7 separate regions of the Homo sapiens genome follow, and all the other regions are linked to region 6. Evidence: promoter capture Hi-C in 16 types of primary human blood cells and fetal thymus (Javierre and others, 2016). All regions are on one chromosome and are shown on one strand. Each heading gives the region's core, a stretch centred on a gene start or on the middle of the fragment in contact. The rest is flanking DNA. Distances are from core to core; before and after follow the strand shown.

Region 1 (2,700 bases), core at 173-2,672, 350 kb after region 6:
CATCCATCAGGTGGACAACCACAGAACACTAAAGAGAGATGGTAACCCTGAAGCCAAGGCTTACTGGATAAGTAGAAGTTTGCCAAGCAGCAAGGGAGGAAAGGCTATAATAGGCAGAACCGCGAAGACAAAGGCACAAGTGGGGAAGACACTGAGGCAGAGTTCAGGCTCCAGCTGTGACTCTGGGCTGGGCATGGTGGCAGATGAGACTCGGCCTCAAAAAAAAAAAAATATGTGACTCTGAAAGACTAAATCAAATGGCCATTTCTTTCTTTCTTTTTTTTTTTTTTTTGAGATGGAGTCTCACTCTGTCACCCAGGCTGGAGTGCAGTGACGTGATCTCAGCTCACTGCAACCTCTGCCTCCCGGGTTCAAGCAATTCTTGTGCTGCAGCCTCCCGAGTAGCTGAGATTACAGGCATGCATCACCATGTCCAGCTAATTTTCCTATTTTTAGTAGAGACGGGGTTTCACCATATTGCCCAGGCTGTTCTCGAACTCCTGATCTCAAGTGATCCACCTGCCTCGAATGTTTTAATTTTTTTAACTAGTTGCCAACACTAAAAATAGTGGGCCATTCCAGGCCCACTTCCATAGGGCAAGGGTCAGCTGGAGTGAGACACTGTCACCTTTAGCTGCCATATGTGCTTTAAGTTCACCATAAATGTCTTATTTACTTCCTATCTCTGACAGGAAAGTCAATGTTAAATTTTTCTTTTTTGAGACAGGGTCTTGCTATGTTGCCCAGGCTGGTCTTGAACTCCTAGGCTCAAGGGAATCCTCCCAAAGTGCTGTGATTAAAGGTGTGACCACCACACCCAGTTTCAATTAACATGTATATCAGATATTGGGCCAGATGCGTTCGCTCACACCTGTAATCCCAGCACTTTGGGAGGCTGAGGTGGGCAGATCATGAGGTCAGGAGTTCGAGACCAGCCTGACCGACCTGGTGAAACCCCATCTCTACTAGAGATACAGAAATTGGCCGGGCATGGTGGCGCGCATCTGTAGTCCCAGCTACTCGGGAGGTTGAGGCAGGAGAATTGCTTGAGCCAGGGAGGCAGAGGTTGCGGTGAGCAGAGATTGTGCCATTGCACTCCAGCCTGGGCGACAGAGCAAGACTCCATCTCAATAAAAAAATAAACACGTATATCAGATATTGATTTTTTTTTGAGACAGAGTCTCACTCTGTCACCCAGGCTGGAGAGCAGTGCTGCAATCTCAGCTGACTGCAACCTCTACTTCCCAGGTTCCAGCAATTCTCCTGCCTCAGCCTCCTGAGTACCTGGGATTACAGATGTGCACCACCACACCCAACTAATTTTTTTAGTAGAGATGAGGTTTCCCTATGTTGGCCAGGCTGGTCTCGAACTCCTGACCTCAAATGATCTGCCTGCCTTGCTTTCCCAAGTGCTGGGATTAGAGGCATGAGCCACTGCACCCAGCTCAGATATCCAGATATTTATTTAGTTAGTTAGTTTTAATTTATTTATTTAATTTTTTTGTTTGTTTTTTTGAGACAGAGTCTCCCTCTGTCACCCAGGCTGGAGTGCAGTGGCACAATCTCAGCTCACTGCAACCTCCGCCTCCGGAGTTTGCAGTTCTCTGCCTCAGCCTCCCGAGTATCTGGGATTACAAGCTCCCACCATTACGCCTGGCTAATTTTTTGTATTTTTAGTAGAAACAGGGTTTCACCATCTTGGCCAGGCTGGTCTTGAATTCCTGACCTCCTGATCCACGCGCCTCGGCCTCCCAAAGTGCTGGGATTACAGGTCTGTGCCATCGTGCCAGGAAGTTACATATATATATATATTTATTTATATTTATATATATTTGTTTGAGATGGAGTCTCGCACTGTTGCCTGGGCTGGAGTGCAATGGCGCGATCTCGGCTCACTGCAATATCTGCCTCCCAGGTTCAAGCGATTCTCCTGCCTCAGCCTCCAAGTAGCTGGGATTACAGGCACCCGCCACCACGCCTGGCTAATTTTTTGTATTTTTTTTTAGTAGAGACGGGGTTTCACTATGTTGGCCAGGCTGGTCTCAAACACCTGACCTCGTGATCCACCCCTCCTCGGCCTCCCAAAGTGCTGTTACAAGCATGAGCCACTGCGCCCAGCCCCAGAATTTATTTTTTAAAGACAAGGTCTCATTTTGTTGGCCAGTTTTGTCTTGAACCCCTGGCCTCAAGCAATCTTCCTGCCTCGGCCTCCCAAAGTGCTAGAGTTACAGTTACAGGCATGAGCCACTGCGCCTGGCCTAGATCAAATATTTAATGCAATTTTTCTTTTTCTTTTCTTTTTTTTTTGAGCAGGGAGAGGTTGGTTTTCACATTTCTAGTGGGAGCCATGGGAGGGTCCTCCTTTGGCAGTGGAGGTGCTCACAATTTCTTCAGCCACTCCAAACTGGGGCCTTGGGGGTCCTGGGGGTGGCTGGGCACATCGGGCATGTTCCCATCATTGCAGACAGGCACTGGGTAGTTGTAGGGCCTTGCCTCGTTGATCATGATGGAGTACTTGGTGTGGGGACTAAGTGGGGGTAGAATTACAGTGAGGCTCCGGATGACAGAGGACAAGACCAGCACTGGCTCCTTGGCCCAGGAAATCTTGAGGAAGGTGCTGAGTCTCGTGGCCTTCTTGGTCTCGGTGGTGATGACAGCGGCCTTTTTTTTTTTTTTTGAGATTGAGTCTTGCTCTGTCAC
Region 2 (2,700 bases), core at 38-2,537, 330 kb before region 6:
TCAGCCCAGCTTTTCCTTCTGCCCCTGGTTCTTGAGATCTTGAGATCATGAGAAATTTCCTTTGAAAGTATGTGATTCCTCTTTCTTGATTCAAGGTGAAACTCTCTTCCAAGGAATCCCCATTCTTGTAGGAAACTCTGGATTTCCTAGTCTCTCCAAGGACTGGCCTACAAGGGACAGAGAAAAGTGAATACACCTTGAAACTACTCAGAGTGTATATTTGAGTGACTTTCAGAGACCCTCCCTCTATGCCACCAAGGCCTAAGCATGACCTTGTTTCTGTTGGTGGGAGATGATAAAACCTTACTTGGCAAGTTTGAAAACGAGGATTGCTGGGCGAAGTAATGTCCAATCTTTAAACTCATGGACATATCAGGAAGCATCTGTGCATCTGGATATTTATGATGCTCAATAATGGATAAAGACACCTGAAAAGTGAGTGAACAAAAGAATTTTCAGGCTAAATATTCCTTCCCCTGAAGGGTTCTTCCTTTGTTTCAGGCATAGCGATCTGGCCTGAGAAGGGGCCTTGGGTCACCTTGTGGTCACCAGGACTTGCTTGCAAGAGCTCCATGTATAACAGGCCATAGACTCATCATCTGTGGAGCCACTCCTGTTGCCCAGAATAAGAATTCATGGCTGCCAAAAGTGCCTGTGGTTAGAGCAGAAAGATTGCGAGTTGGTGGGGGAAGAGAGCTAATCCAAAAATTAAAGAAAAGGGTATTCAAACATGAGATAATCTCTTTATCATGCCTTTCCTATAAGTTGATTAAATACGGGAAATCACAGTACTGAAAATAATAATCTAAAATTCTAACTACTAAACTTTGAGCTACGATATATGTGTCACTATAAAGTAATAGAGAATTTATCTCAGTCCAAAATTAATAACAAAGAATTTCAAAATCAGTTTTGAGCTTTGCCTTCTATGTATGTGAAAGAACAAGATCCAGACTCCCTCCAGCATCAAACAAGTAGAAAGCCAGATCCACTATGTGACCTAAATGTGTCCAGATGCTAGAAAGTATCTGATAGGGGCACAGGACAGTGGCCTGGAGGCTGAATCCAAGGGAGGGGACCCCCTGGCTGCCCCAACTCAGAGCCTGCAGAGAGCGTCCAGGAGGCAGTGCAGTGAGGCAGGATCCCGACAGAGCATGGAAATCCCTGAGTTTAGGAAACAGGATTGATGATATAAGGAGAAAGGTGGCTGGAAGGCACAGGGCTGAGTACCAGAGAGCAGGAGGGAGTGGCTGAACTGAGGTAAGACTGGAGAGTAGAAGATGGGGGGTCACTGAACCATTGGCAGATACAAGGGTAATCACCAATTAAACAAATTTGTCCCAGTGAAAGAGGAAAAAGGAACCCTGCCTTTTTCTTTCAGAGCATTTTTAAAAGAAAACTTGTCCCTATGAGTTTCTTCTCTGTCCCCTTGTGACGTATGGAAGTCTCCAAAAGTTAAGTAAGCCGCTTACCAACTTCCAACCAGGACTGTCTTTCTCAAGGGCCTGGGAGCCATCTCTCTAAAATGGAATCATTAAGGGAGCAAGTTCCCATGAGAGGGTAGGAGCCCAGCTTCCGCCAGTGCCTGGCTCTAACTTACTAACCTACTCCTGCCATAAACTATGAGACACTGGTCTTTTCTTGTCATAAATGTGATTAGTGAACACAGTGGGTACCCTTGAGGGACATGTAAAAACAGTGCTGTCAAGTCCCTTCCCTGAGGACTGGTTACTGTTTATCTCGGGAACACGCATGCACTGGTTGTAGCTGCCTGGCTATGCACAAGGGTGAGATTTCCTTCTTTCTTGCAATGTGCTAGGTTATTATCTGTTTTGTGCATCACAATGCCGTTTAATGATTCTTCAATGAAACTGTTTTCTTTCTCTTCTATCTTTCCGGAGAGATTTCCTGAGTTGGCAAGAGACTTTGTTGTTAATCATATTCCCCACCACAGGTAGTGACATCACTATGCTAGAGGGGAGCTGAAGACCTGAGTGGCAGCATCTCTCCCTGCTGCCTCAGCCAAGGCCCCAGTGCCCAGGAAGGGATGCCACCACCTGGAGTAGAGCCTCAGATGGGAACTAATATCAGTAACTTGATATTTCTGCTTGGATAATGGGCAAATTAGAGATAGCTCAGTTTAATCCATTCACAACCAAGCATTTCAGTTCTGGGGAAGACAGACTAGACATACATGTCTCTATTCTTCCCAATAAGTACAACTAAAATCCCTGGACATTATACATGAAACCAAATGGAGAAAGCTCTAAAAGGTGGAAGAAAGCAAGCATACTGTTCGTGAACCGAAGAAAGATGTGATAACAGAGTGGGGTGAAACACGGGTTTCTTTGCCCATATACTGTAGTCTTGGAGCTAAAGAAACTGGCAACTCAGATACACCAATAGGCAAAGGCAAAAAAATAAAACCAGAAAACTTTTATCCAGTGACTGCCCTACTACAGCCAAAACCACTGAAAAACCATGGCTGCCTGCCCACGTATGCCACCAAAAGCCAAATGAGAGGCTAGAGTTTCACCTATGCCAGGATGAAATGCAGACAGCACCATAGGCTTTCTTTCCCTTTTGTGTTTTATAAATTGTATTTGATGCTTTAAGGAAAAATGGTAAGATTTTCAACTATGATAATTTCTGTATATAACGTAATATCTTGATCACACACTAAAAATGCTATACTCAAAA
Region 3 (2,700 bases), core at 68-2,567, 360 kb before region 6:
GGATCCTGAGCTTCTGCAAATCTGACTGAATCAAAAACAAACAAAAAAAATTGGATTTTAAAGTGTAAGCAACAATAGTTTATGTCAACCAATTTCTAGAATCACGACTAGAGTGAAACTTGTACATCACCTCAAATAAAAAGGCGAATGTCAAAATCAAACATTATGAAATTTTTTCTACTTCAACAAAACCCCTATTTTTTTCCTGAAAACAAGAATCTAAAACTAACTCATACAAAGCACAAGATCCCAAGGGACATTCTGAAAAGAAAATAAAACTCTTAGTTATTAGATATTCCGAAGGCAAGTTATCCTCACCCAGAGAGACCAGGTTTCTGTAGTTTTCTAACATCACATCCTGATACAAATTCTTCTGAGCTGGTTCCAGGTGTTCCCACTCCTCCAAAGAGAATTCTACGGCCACATCCCTGAATGTCAACAGTCCCTGAAATAAAAATAAAGAATACACTGACCATGTGGCCATGGCAGAGTTCTTCATTTGTCCCAAGATGAAATGACAGTTATTGGTTCTGACATATATGAGTGACCTGAATTATTCAGTAAGATCATTTTTAACACAGTAATATTTTCTAATGTAGTCTCAAACTCTGTGGAAAGAAAATAACATAAAATCCACAAAACTAGTGTAGATATTTATATCAAATGTAAAATATAAAACTAAGGCATCAACACAGGAATATACATTTTTGGGTGCTATATTTACATCATCCAGAATCAGCTGTGTATAATTCTCAGGTGCAAAAGTCATGGTGACTTAGAGGCATACTTCTCAAATTGTATAGTATACAACAATAAACTGGAGATCTTCTTCAAAGGCAGAGTCTGATTCAGGAGATCTAGATTTTGAGTTTCTGCATTTCCATATTTTTTAATTTTTAATTTTGACACAGGGTCTCGCTCTGCCACCCAGGCTGGAGTGCAGTGGTTGAATCTTGGCTCACTGCAGCCTCAACCTCCTGGGCTCAGGCGATCCTCCTGTTTCAGCCTCCTGAGTAGCTAAGGCTACAGGCATGAGCCACCATGGCTGGCTGAGTATCTGCATGTCTAACAAGTTCACCAGTAGTGTTAATGCTTCAGGCCCCAAAGCCACTTTTGAATAGCAGAGAGGTCGAACACTGAGGAAAGAATTCAGGCATGATGTGAAACTGAGAGTTTTATGAAATTTACAAGTTATAACAGCTAGAATGGTAGTAATCCTTTTTGAACATGCACAATATATCAGATATCATCCTAAAAGTTGTTTACATATATAAAACCCAATAAATAATCTGAGAAAAATTATATTCTTCCTCTTATATAAAAATTATTTTCCAAATATTTGCTACATAGTAGTTTGTATTTTGCCTCAGTTTATCTGATTTAGAATTTATCTCAAAGGGACATACCGGCCAATATACAGAGACAACCTTAACAGAATGTTCAGAGAAGATTTCGTAACTGAGTAACGAAAACAAGAAAGCAGCCACACAATAGTGATCGAATAATGCTTTCATTTTATGTGCATATGTGCACATAATGGTAACTATATACACACTAAAAGTAAGATAATATTTCTGTGTAAATAAAATTTAAAAATATTTTAAATTGTATAAAAACTATAAAACTCTTTGTGGGTGATGCCTTTTTTGTGATGCCTTTATAAAGACCAATACATACAATGAAATAAAGTAAAGGCTCTTGTTTCTGAGTCTGGTATTTTTTTTCAAGTTTTTGTTATGTTTATTCTATGTGCTATTATATATTTTAGAATTTTAAGACAATAGACATATTTGTTATATGTTAATTCTTGTTCTTTCTCTGAAAATATAGAGAATAAATAAGCATATGCTTGTGACATGAGATGAAATAAAATGGAAACCTACAGAACTGAGACCTGCTTCAGAACTTCCAGTCTTAAAAGCTGTTATCTCCTGTCAACAAATGTGAGAGCCTTTACTCTGCAAAGAAAGCTACAAGCAAAGGGAAACCAAAAAGAAATGGGAGTCTCTGGATTAAATGTGATGGTTTATAGACATCACTCAGTAAATCCTCCCTCCTAGATACTCATTACAAAGAGAAAAATGATTAACTTTATAGCGAAGGAATCTGACAGAGAGCACCTGCACCAAGTGAATGAAGTTAGCATCGTCTGTAATAAGACAAATTGGTACCAGTGCTAATGCACAGATGGGCCCATAATCATTGCTGTGATATGGGCGGAGGGGAACAGTAAATCATAATCTTAATATAATCATAAAAAAACAATCTGTGGGGGAAGATACAGGTGACCATAGATCTTCAAACTGGTTATGTGACCCTACTTAGAAGCCTGGGCTGAGAATCACTTAGCTAAGCATTGCCTCTCAAGGTTCAATACGCATACATATCATTTGGTATTCTGGGCCCCCTCTAAGTAATGTGATTCTGCAGGTTTGGAAAGTTTCCATGAACTGGCTTCTTTAACAAGTCCCCTGTCAATGCTGATGTTGCTCCTCCTAGACCCATTATCAATAGCACTCAGCTAGAGGAAGCAGACACAGCACAGAGTCCCTTACGCCCAATACTCTAATCACAACAAAAATACTTTTCGTTCACAGTGAGGACCACCAACCACTGTCCTGAAAGATCACACCCTTTGCCAGCCATTTAAAGTCTACAGATACAGAGACTGGAGAAGACAGTTATGTCTAAGTCAGCATT
Region 4 (2,700 bases), core at 95-2,594, 380 kb before region 6:
CACAGTGACTAGGGGACTACAATGAACCCAGTGCTGCCCTATCACAGCAGAGACCTGGCAGGATTCATCACCTTCTGACTTAGGAGCTGCTGGTCTCTGAATAACCTACAGTGGTACCCCAATAACACATCATGAACATTGGACTCCGAGATGTGCTGGCTTCAGGTGTGACCCAGAACATTTCCCACTGTGGTGGGTATAGTGAAAGACACCTTCTGTTTGAGCAAAGCAGAGGAAAAAGTAAATGGGATTCTGTCTTGCACCTGAGGTACCAGCTTGGCCACAGTGGGGTAGAGCACCAAGCAGACTCTTAGGGTCCCTGAGTCAGCATTTCTGGACCTGCCCTGCACCAAAGAGTAAGTCCCAGTTGTGGAAGCAGTCATCATAAGCTGACTGAAGAGTGCTTGGGTGTTGAGTGAACATCAGTGATAGCCCAGTGGAAACCCCTGTGGGCTGGTGGTGGTGGCAGACACATTGTGAGGCTCCTCTGCCTGCAGAAAGGGGAGGGAGGAGTGGTAAGGATGTTGTCTTGTAATTTGAATGCCAGCTTAGCTGCAGTAGAATAGAACACGAGATAAATAAGGCTTCTGACTTCAATACCTGGCTCCCACACAATATCTCTGAACCTACCTGGGGCCAAAGGGAACTCACTGCCCTGAGGAGACACAAACCTGGCTGGTTACCACCTGCTGATTGTAGAGGCCTAAGGTCTTGAGTAAACTTAGGTGGTAGCCAGGCAGTAATTACACTGGGCCTTGGGTGACACCCAGTGCTGTGCTCACTTCAAGTCTAAATTAGCACAGTCCCAGTGGTGGGGGCAACAGGGAAGCTTATGTCATCCCACCCCAGCTCCAGGTAGCTCAGCATAGAGAAAGAAATTCCATTCGTCTGGAAGAAACTAAGGGAAGAGAACAAGAGTCTCTGCTTGGTAATCCAGATAATTCATCGATTTTAACCAAGACCAACCACATGGTACCTCTATGAGTCTGCAAGAACAACGTTATTGAGTTTGAGATCCAAGTACCTTCAAATTCTGGAAAGCCTTCCCAACAAGGGTGGACACAAAGCCCAGACTGCGAAGGCTACAATAAATGCCTAACTCTTCAATGCCAAGACACAGATGAACATCTACACATTAAGACCATCCAGTAAAATATGGCCTCACCTAACAAACTGAATAAGGCATAAGAGGCCAATCCTGGAGAAACAAAATAAGTAACTTTTCAGACAGATGATTCAACATAGTTGTGTTGAGGAAACAAATTCAAGATAAAATAGAGAAGGAATTCAGATTCTATCAGATAAATCAAACAAAGAGGTTGAAATAATTAAAAGGAATCAAGCAGAAATTGAAGTTAAAAAAGCAATTGGCATACTGAAGAATGCATCAGTCTCTTAATAGCAAAACTGATCAGGCAAAAGAAAAAATTATTGAGCTTGAACATAGGCAATTTGAAAATATGTAGAGAAGACAAAAAAGAATGAAGTATGCCTACAAGATTTAGAAAACACCCTGAAAAGGGCAAATCTAAGAGTTGTTAGCCTTAAAGAGAGAAAGAGACAGGGGTAGAAAGTTTCAAGAATACGATCAGAGAACTTCCCAAATCTATAAAGATATCAATATCCAAGTACAACCAGGTTACAGAACACAAAGCAGATTGAACCCAAAGACGACTACCTCAAGACATTTAATAATCAAACTCCCAAAAATTAAGAATAAAGGATCCTAAAAGCAGCAAGAAAAAAGAAACAGCATACAATGAAACTCCAGTACGTCTGGCAGCAGATTTTCAGTGGAAATCTTACAGGCCAGGAGAGAATAGCATGACATATTTAAAGTGCTGAAGTAGCAAAGCTTTTACACTAGAATAGTCTATCCCGTGAAAATATTCCATAGCCATGAAGGAGAAAAAAATGACCTTCCCAGACAAACACTGAGAGATTTCATTAAAACCAGACCTGTCCTACAAGTAATACTAAGGGGCATTCTCTTCCATCTGTAAGAAAAGAATGTTAATGAACAATAAGAAGTCATCTGAAGGTACAGAACTCATTGGTAATAGCACAGAGAAAAACTGAGTATTATAATATGGTAACTGTGGTGTGTAAAATACTCAAGTAGAAATACTCAATGATGACTCAATACAACTACAACAATGTTTCAAGACAAAGACAGTACAATAAGACATAAAGAGAACCAACAAAAAGTTGAAAAATGGGGAAGCAAAGTTAAAGGTAGAGTTTTTACTAGTTTTCTTATTGCTTATTTGTTCACTTAGGCAATCAGTGTGAAGTTGTCAGCAGTTAAAACAATAGGTTATAAGATAGTATTTGTAAGTTTCATGGTAACCTCAAATAAAAAAACATACAACAGACACAGAAACCAAAAAGCAAGAAATTAAATCATACCACCAAGAAAAATCATGTTCACTAAAATGAAGACAGAAAGGAAGGACAAAAGAAAGAGAAGATGCAAAAACAAATAACAAAATGGCAGGAGTGAACACATACTTATCAATAATAATGCTGAATGGAAATGCACTAAACACTCCAATTAGATGACATAGAATGGGTGAAAAAAAGAAAAAGGAAGACCCAATTATCTGCTGCCCACAAGAAATACACTTCATCTATAAAGATACACATAGACTGAAAAATAAAAGAATGGAAAAATGTTCCATGCCAATGAAAACAAAAAAA
Region 5 (2,700 bases), core at 38-2,537, 400 kb before region 6:
TCCCAGTACTTTGGGAGGCTGAGGTGGGTGGATCACTTGAGGTTAGGAGTTCAAGACCAGTCTGGCCAACATGGTGAAACCCCATCTCTACTAAAAATACAAAAAATTAGCTCAGCATGGTGGCACGCACCTGTAATCTCAGCTACTCGGGAGGCTGAGGCAGGAGAATCGCTTGAACCAGGGAGGCAGAGGTTGCAGTGAGCCGAGATTGTGCCACTGCACTCTAGCCTAGGTGACAGAGTGAGACTCCATCTCAAAAAAAAAATTGTTATGATTTCTCTTTGTCCCTCTGTTTGAGTGTATTGTTTTATTTAAATCTATTACAAATGTTCTAGTTTTCCTTTTGATATTGATTTCTCATGTTATTCCACTTGGCCAGAGAAAATTCTTTGATTTCCTTTAATCATTTTCAAATTAATTGAGAATTGTTTTGTGACCTAATAATATATAATGTCTCCTGGAAATTGTTCCATGTGCACTTGAAAAGAAAGTATTCTGCTTTTTTTGTGGGGGTGGGTGGAGTTTTTCATACATATTTGTTAGGTCTAGTTTGTTTATAGCGTTCTACCAGTCCCCTATTACTTATTGATGTTCTGCCTGATGGCTGGTGTCTATTTATTATTGAAAATGTGGAATTGAGGTATTTATTTGTTACTGTAGAATTGTTCATTTTCTCTTAAATTCTGTCCATTTTTAACATATTGTATATTTAATATATTTTCATATATTTGAGGGTTCTTCTGTAATATATGCATATGCTTATAATTGTTATATCTTCTTACTGGATTGGCCCTATTATCAATACATTGTCTTTGTCTCTTGTTACAACTTTGATGTGAAGCCTGTTATTTTCTGATGTGAGTATACTAACCACCTTTCCTTTGATTACTATTTGCATGTAATATCGTTTTTGATTCTTTCACTTTTAAACTATTTGAGCTTTTCAATGTTATGTAGACAGCATATGATTAGACGATGGTTTCTATTATTCATTCTGTGGTCTTCATTAAATAGTTTAACCCATTTATCTTAAAGTAATTACTCACAAGAAAGGACTGACTTCTCTCATTTTTCTATTCATTTTCTACCTGTGCTAAACCAGTTTTTGGCCCTTTTTGCCTACATTACTCCCTTCTCTAGTATCCGGTTTTGTACTCTATTACTTTGATTTTCTTCTTGTTTTCTTTTTAAAAAGTTTATTTTAGGTTCAGGGGTACATGTGCAGGTTTGTTATATAGGTAACTTGTGTGTCACAGGAATTTGGCATACAGATTCTTTTATCAACCAGGTAATAAACATAGTACCTGAGAGGTAGCTTTTTGTCCTCATCCTACTCCTACCCTCCACCCTCAAGTAGGTCCTGATGTCTGTTGTTCCCTTCTTTGTATCCATACATACTCAATGTTTATCTCCCCCTAATGAATGAAAACGTGATATTCGGTTTTCTGTTCCTGTGCTAGTTAATTTAAGATAATGGCCTCTAGCTCCATCCATGTTGCTGCAAAGGACACGATACTATTTTTTATAGCTGTACAGTATTCCATGGTGTATAGGTACTATGTTTTCTTTATCCAGTCTATCACTGATGGACATTTAGACTGATTCCATGTCTTTGCTATTGTGAATAGTTCTGTGATGAACATACATGTGAATGTGTCTTTATGGTAGAACAATTTATATTCCTTTGGGTATATACCCAATAATGGGATTGTGAGATTGAATGGTAATTCTGCCTTGAGTTCTTTCTGAAATTGCCAAACTGCTCTCCACAGTGGCTGAAGTAATTTACATTCCCACTAGCAGTATATAAGCGTTCCCTTTTCTCCACAACTTTGACAGCATCTTTTTTTATTTGACTTTTTAATAAAAGCCATTCTGACTGGTGAGAGATGGTATCTCATTGTGGTTTTGATTTGCATTCTTCTAATGATTACTGATGTTGAGCATTTTTTTCATATGCTCGTTGGCTGTGTGTGTCTTCTTTTGAGAAGTGTCTGTTCATGTCCTTTACCAACTTATTAATGGGCATTTTTGTTTTTGCTTGTACATGTATTTAAGTTTCTTATATATGCGGAATATTAGACCTTTGTCAGATGCATAGTTCACAAATACTATTTTCCCATTCTGTAGATTGTCTGTTTGCTCTGTTTATAATTTCCTTTTCCCGTGAAGAAGCTCTTTAGTTTAACTAGGTCTCATTTGTCAATTTTTCTTTTTGTTACAATTGCTTTTGGTGTCTTCATCATAAAATATTTGCCAAGGCCATGTCCAGAATGGTATTTCCTAGGTTGTCTTCAGGGTTTTTAATAGGTTTAGATTTTACATTTAAGTATTTATTCCACTTTGAGTTGATTTTTGTATATGGTGTAAGGGATGGGTCCAGTTTTACTCTTCTGTACATGGCTAGCTAGTTATCCCAGTACCATTTTTGCATTGGGAGTCTTTTCCTCATTGCTTGTTTTGGTCAATTTTATTGAAGATGAGAAGATTAAAGGTGTATGGCATTATTTCTAGATCTCTGTTTTGTTCCATTCTTCTGTGTGTCTATTTTTGGACCAGTACCATGGTGTTTTAGTCACTGTATAGTATAGTTTGAAGTCAGGGAATGTGATGTCTCCAGCTTTGTTCTTTTTGCTTAGGATTACCTTGGCTATTTGGCCTTTTTTTTTTTCATATGAATTTTAAAATAGTTGTTTCTAA
Region 6 (2,700 bases), core at 98-2,597:
ATTCCTGCGATGCCTGGGGCTCCGGGGAGGTATTTTGCGGTAGTCAGAGTCCGAAGATCCTAGAATGTAGTTTGAGCTGGGGCTAAGGACAGGGGATTGAAAAGTCGAGGCGGTGGACCTGGCGCAGGATGAACAAGACTGGGAGACTTCCAACAGTTTCCTCCTCGACAAGCAGGTCACAGGACAATGTCTGGAGGACTTCTATCCCCCTTTCTTGTTTCTGCCACCCCCTCCCCTGCAGCTCTGCACTCTCTCTAGTCCCGCCTTCCTGGCCCTCGTTCAGCCTGTTTTAGTTTAGAATCGCTGCCCGGTGGTCACTCAAGGCTGCTAACCTCTGCTGTAAGGAATTAAGCTTCCAAGAGCATATCTAAGAAGGAGGGCGGAAGGAAAGGGACCGAGTGCCTCCACATGTCAGGACAGACCATGAAAGAGAAGCCAGGAAGTCCAACAAAACCAGCACTGGTCTTTATTGAGGTGTCAGGGTAGAGTGGCAGGAGCACAGCCTAAGGACATGAAGGTCAGAGTTTCTCAGAGAGGAGGGGCTGGGTCCCTGAGCTAGGAGGAGGGCGGTGGGTGACTCGGGAGCTCATGAGACTTCAGGAAGTCCCTGTACTTGGCCAGGAAAGGGTTGGCCAGAGTGTTCAGCTCTTGCCGAAGCTCCTGCAGAGCCTTGTCTCGCTCTTGGGGCTCCCCTGTCACCTGCTGCCTGTAATAGTTGATGTAGAAGTTCATCCAGTCCTCCACCACAGTCACCATGTCTTCTTCAGAGACGAGAGGATCATTGAAGACCTGGGGGGTTGCGGAGAGGCAGTTGGCAAGGGAGAATGTGGTCAGCAATGGGATTCGGGAATACTAGAATAGTGCCACAGCACCAACTCTCACATTCTCTTTCCTCTGCATTGTATCCCGTGTCTCTCGTTGTTTCCATCAACTCCACCATTACTTCACCAGCTCCAATTATCCTCTTCCTCCACTTCCCCGGCACCCCCCAGTCTCCAGGCCAGTCCTTTGAAATGGAAAGCTTGGACTCACCTGCTGATTCAGCAGAACGCTGAACTCCTTCAATCCTGCGGAAATGAGATCCTTATTGGCCTTAAGAAGAGCCATCTGCCTGGGTAGAGAAAAGGGTAGAATTTACATATCTGTTTCCCTCCTCACTGGGTATTTCCCCCAACCCACTTCCTCCCCTTAAAAATCCCTCCTGCCCTGCAGGGCTATCTCCTTTCCAAAACCTTTCACATCCTGCCCTGCTCTGAGGTCACGATTTTCCCAGGTTGGGCTCACCTTCAGGTCTAACAGGCTGTATATGTCTCACCCACACTCTTGAGGGTGCGTGAATCTCTCTGTGCCAAGCTATAGATGTAGGCAAGGAGTCAAGTGTCAGCCTAAGATAGAAACGCCCTGCATCTAGGTCCTGAAGGAGGGTGATAGGTCATTCTAGGGAGGAGAAGAAGGGAGAGGCTTCCCTGAAGGTAGAAAGATAACAAGGCCAAAAAAAAAAAAAAAAAAGATAAATGAGGAAACCCAGGAAATGCAAGAAGGCAAGAGCCAAACCAGGGGCATGTTCCTGCTTTTTGCCCCATATTTCAGTATCCAGGCTCGAAATGCTATGGAAATTGACGTTTACTGAGCCCTATTACATGACAGAGGCTTTTGTGTAATCACAACGATGTGATCGCAATGATTCTCCCAATTCGGAGATGATGTATTAATAGCAGCTTGCATTACATTTATTCATTTGTGCCAAGCACTGTTTCAAACATGTACAAAATATTTATCCTATAAAATTTCTTTTTAGACACATTTTGCAGATAAGCCACCTGTAAGCGTGTGGACTGAACTCCACCACGCTGTGCTCCATAAGAATGGAGATAAATAGCCGGGCGTGGTGGCGGGCACCTGTAGTCTCAGCTACTTGGGAGGCTGAGGCACGAAAATCGCTTGAACCCAGGAGGCAGAGGTTGCAGTGAGCCAAGATCACACCACAGCACTCCAGCCTGGGTGACAGGGCGAGACTCCATCTCAAAAGAAAAAAAAGAATGGAGATGGATTTGTCTTGTTTACTACCCTGTCAACAGGTACCCAATAAAGCAGAAATACTCTTTTTCCTCTTTTTAAATATTTTTCCAGATATTTTCCATTTTCAGTAGATGTTTCTCAAATTTCAAAATCACTATATACTAATTGAAATAATTAAAACAATACAAAAACGTACACTGAAAAACTGAATCATTTTTGCCCCCTCCAAAGTAACCAGCATTAAACATTGTATATTTCCTGTCACTTTTTTTTTCCATTCAAAACCCAACATTCATAGGTGCCTATACACTCATAAAGCTTTGTTGATTTGCCTTTTTGGTTGTAGCATTTTTTAATCAATATACAGCAAAACTGACTTCCTTTTGGTGTACAGTATATTAAATTTTTTTTTTTTGAGAGGGAGTCTCCCTCTGTGGCCCAGGCTGGAGTGCAGTGATGCGATCTCAGCTCACTGCAAACTTTACCTCCCAGGTTCAGGCGATTCTCCTGCCTCAGCCTCCCAAGTAGCTGGGATTACAGGCGTGCATCACCACGCCTAGCTAATTTTTGTATTTTAGTAGAGATGGGGTTTCACCATGTTGGCCAGGCTAGTCTCGAACTCCTGACCTCAAGTGATCGACCCACCTTGGCCTCCCAAAGTGCTGGGATTACAGGTGTGAG
Region 7 (2,700 bases), core at 118-2,617, 480 kb after region 6:
TTCTACACACACACACACACGAACACATCCAACATATAAAGCAGAACAAGGACAGGAGAACAGCAGAGCACACTCCCGTTCAGAAGGAAGGACAGGGCCCGGTGCGGTGGCTCATGCCTGTAATCCCAGCACTTTGGGAGGCCGAGGCCGGTGGATCACCTGAGGTCAGGAGTTTGAGACCACCCTGGCCAACACGGTGAAAACCTGTCTCTACTAAAAATACAAAAATTAGCCAGGCGCAGTGGCTCACGTCTGTAATTCCAGCACTTTGGGAGGCCGAGGGGGGCAGATCACAAGGTCAGGAGTTCAAGACCAGCCAGGCCAACATAGTGAAACCCGGTCTCTACTAAAAATACAAAAAGTTAGCCGGGCGTGGTGGCGGGCCCCTGTAGTCCCAGCTACTCAGGAGGCTGAGACAGGAGAATCGCTTGAACCCAGGAGGCAGAGGTTGCAGTGAGCCGAGATCGTGCCATTCCACTCCAGCCTGGGCGACAGTGCAAGACTCCGTCTCAAAAACAAAAACAAAAAACCCCAAAACCAAAAATTAGCCAGGCGTGGTGGCATGCACCTGTAGTCCCAGCTACTCGGGAGGCTGAGGCAAGAGAATCGCTTGAACCCAGGAGGCAGAGGTTGCAGTGAGCCGAGATAGTGCCATTGCACTACAACATGGGTGACAAAAGTGAAACTCTGTCTCAAAAAAAAAAAAAAAAAAAAAAAAGGAAGGAAGGACAGGAGACACACAGCAGGCTCTGGGCCCCACTAAGTCTAAAGTGCTGCTGGGCAGATGTTGAGAAGAACCCCCACTTTTCCCTGGGAGTGGGAAGAGTTCCCTAGTTCATTCTTCACCATGTTCTTGGCTCTGCCCTTAGAGTAAACCACCCTTTTCCACTTATTCTCCTTGGCCACAATTGAGAGGACACTGGTGGTTATGTCTTTCTGAAGTAGAGTAGCTTTCTCAGTCTCCTTCATGCCCATAGAAATTTGGAGACCCATGGCCAGGTGCGGTGGCTCACGCCTATAACCCCAACACTTTGGGAGGCCGAGGCGGGCAGATCACGAGGTCAGGAGATCGAAACCATCCTGGCGAACACAGTGAAACCCTGTCTCTACTAAAAATACAAAAAAAAATTAGCCGGGCATGGTGGCGGGCGCCTGTAGTCCCAGCTACTCGGGAGGCTGAGGCGGGAGAACGGCGTGAACCTGGGAGGCAGAGCTTGCAGTGAGCCGAGATCACACCACTGCACTCCAGCCTGGGTGACAGAACGAGACTCCGTCTCTAAAAAAAAAAAAGAAATTTGGAGACCCAGGCCGGGCATGGTGGTTCACATCTGCAATCACAGTATTTTGAGAGGCTAAGGCAGGAGGATCACTTGAGGCAAGGATTGCTTGAGGCCAGCCTGGGCAACATACAGAGACCCCCATCTCTACTAAAAACAAAACAAAACAAAACAAAAAAAAACCTGAAATACAAAAATTAGGCTGGGCATGGTGGCTCACACCTGTAATCCCATCACTTTGGGAAGCCAACGAGGGAGAACTCCTTAAGACCAGAAGTTCAAGACCAGCTTGGGCAACAGGCTGAAATCCTCTCCAGAAAAAAATAGAAAAATTAGCCAGGTGTGGTGGCGCATGCCTGTAGTCCCAGCTACTCAGAAGGCTGAGGTGGGGGGATCACTGGAGCCCTAGAGGTAGAGGCTGCAGTGAGGCTTGATTGTGCCACTGCACTCCAGCTGGAGTGACAGAGCAAGACTTCATCTCAAAACAAAACAAAGCAAAACAAAACAAAAATAGGCTGGGCATGGTGGTACACTGCACGCCTATAATGCCAGCACTTTGGGAGGCCAAGACAGGTGAATCGCTTGAGTTCAGGAGTTCGAGACCAGCCTGGGCAATATAGCAAGACCCTGTCTCTACCAAAAAAATACAAAAATTAGCCGGGCATGGTAGCGCACACCTGTAGTCCCAGCTACTTGGGAGGCTGAGGTAAGTGGATCACTCAAGCCCAGGAAGCGGAGGTTGCAGTGAGCCAAGATCGTGCCACTGCACTTCAGCCTGGGTGGCAGAGTGAGATTTTGTTTCAAAAAAATTTGAAAAACAAAAATTAGCCTGCTGGGGTGGCATGGGCCTGTAGTCCCAGCTACTTGGGAGGCTGAGGCAGGAGGATCGTGTGAGCCCAGAAGTTCGAGGTTATAGAGAGCTGTGGTTGCATCACTGCACTCCAGGCTGGGTGACAGAGTGAGACCCGGTCTCCGAAATAAAAAAAAAGAAAGAAACTTGGGGACCTAAAAATCATACTAAGTATTGAACACTCATGGTCAAGATTTAACCTGGTGGCTTTTTGTCAGGGTGAGGGGGTGTTAGGCAGGGGAAGCAGGGCAATTCCCTCCAAAACTGAACTTACGTATTTTACTCCATTCAGATCCATGGGTCAACAGCATACCCATAATTCTTTTCAGACATAACCATGACGTTAGACTTAACTGTAGTTGAGCCTACTGACTCCCTCAGGTAAGCTACATTTTTTTTTTTTTTTGAGATGGAGTTTCACTCTTGTTGCCCAGGCTGGAGTGCCATGGGTGATCTTGGCTCACTGCAACCTCCGCCTCCCAGGTTCAAGCAATTCTCCTGCCTCAGCCTCCCAAGTAGTTGGGATTACAGGCATGCACCACCATGCCTGGCTAATTTTGTATTTTTAGTAGA

What was found. Contacts are between HindIII fragments. The CHiCAGO score rates a contact against its expected background, and 5 or more counts as called.
Region 1: a contact is called between a fragment that was not itself captured here and the fragment with the promoter of AHSP in region 6, in 1 of 17 cell types (erythroblasts). The highest score is 8.9, in erythroblasts.
Region 2: a contact is called between a fragment that was not itself captured here and the fragment with the promoter of AHSP in region 6, in 9 of 17 cell types (naive CD4 T cells, activated CD4 T cells, total CD4 T cells and 6 more). The highest score is 9.6, in naive CD4 T cells.
Region 3: a contact is called between a fragment that was not itself captured here and the fragment with the promoter of AHSP in region 6, in 9 of 17 cell types (monocytes, fetal thymus, non-activated CD4 T cells and 6 more). The highest score is 9.2, in monocytes.
Region 4: a fragment that was not itself captured here is called in contact with the fragment with the promoter of AHSP in region 6 in 8 of 17 cell types (naive CD4 T cells, total CD4 T cells, total CD8 T cells and 5 more); the score reaches 8.0 in naive CD4 T cells.
Region 5: a fragment that was not itself captured here is called in contact with the fragment with the promoter of AHSP in region 6 in 7 of 17 cell types (naive CD4 T cells, total CD8 T cells, total CD4 T cells and 4 more); the score reaches 7.5 in naive CD4 T cells.
Region 7: a fragment that was not itself captured here is called in contact with the fragment with the promoter of AHSP in region 6 in 5 of 17 cell types (total CD4 T cells, non-activated CD4 T cells, naive CD4 T cells and 2 more); the score reaches 5.7 in total CD4 T cells.

What each region holds. Positions count from the first base shown.
Region 1 is chr16:31,174,504-31,177,203 of GRCh38, reverse strand. It overlaps the pseudogene NDUFA3P6. Among named protein-coding and RNA genes, the nearest start is that of FUS, 4.3 kb to the left of the region's middle. The HindIII fragment of the contact is 8,665 bases long and covers 1-2,700 here.
Region 2 is chr16:31,860,843-31,863,542 of GRCh38, reverse strand. It overlaps the pseudogene RBM22P13. Among named protein-coding and RNA genes, the nearest start is that of ZNF267, 12 kb to the left of the region's middle. The HindIII fragment of the contact is 9,415 bases long and covers 1-2,700 here.
Region 3 is chr16:31,882,243-31,884,942 of GRCh38, reverse strand. ZNF267 (zinc finger protein 267) reads right to left here. Exons shown (of 4, transcript NM_003414.6): 2 at 319-445. Among named protein-coding and RNA genes, the nearest start is that of ZNF267, 9.8 kb to the right of the region's middle. The HindIII fragment of the contact is 4,868 bases long and covers 1-2,700 here.
Region 4 is chr16:31,911,490-31,914,189 of GRCh38, reverse strand. All of the region lies in intron 3 of ZNF267 (zinc finger protein 267), which reads right to left. Among named protein-coding and RNA genes, the nearest start is that of ZNF267, 39 kb to the right of the region's middle. The HindIII fragment of the contact is 1,026 bases long and covers 832-1,857 here.
Region 5 is chr16:31,930,622-31,933,321 of GRCh38, reverse strand. No RefSeq gene overlaps it. Among named protein-coding and RNA genes, the nearest start is that of ZNF267, 58 kb to the right of the region's middle. The HindIII fragment of the contact is 8,251 bases long and covers 1-2,700 here.
Region 6 is chr16:31,526,547-31,529,246 of GRCh38, reverse strand. It overlaps AHSP (alpha hemoglobin stabilizing protein), which reads right to left and starts at 1,347. Exons shown (of 3, transcript NM_016633.4): 1 at 1,285-1,347; 2 at 1,033-1,111; 3 at 444-789. The coding sequence starts at 1,107. The coding sequence ends at 556. The HindIII fragment of the contact is 1,316 bases long and covers 1,024-2,339 here.
Region 7 is chr16:31,046,769-31,049,468 of GRCh38, reverse strand. No RefSeq gene overlaps it. Among named protein-coding and RNA genes, the nearest start is that of STX4, 15 kb to the right of the region's middle. The HindIII fragment of the contact is 4,212 bases long and covers 1-2,700 here.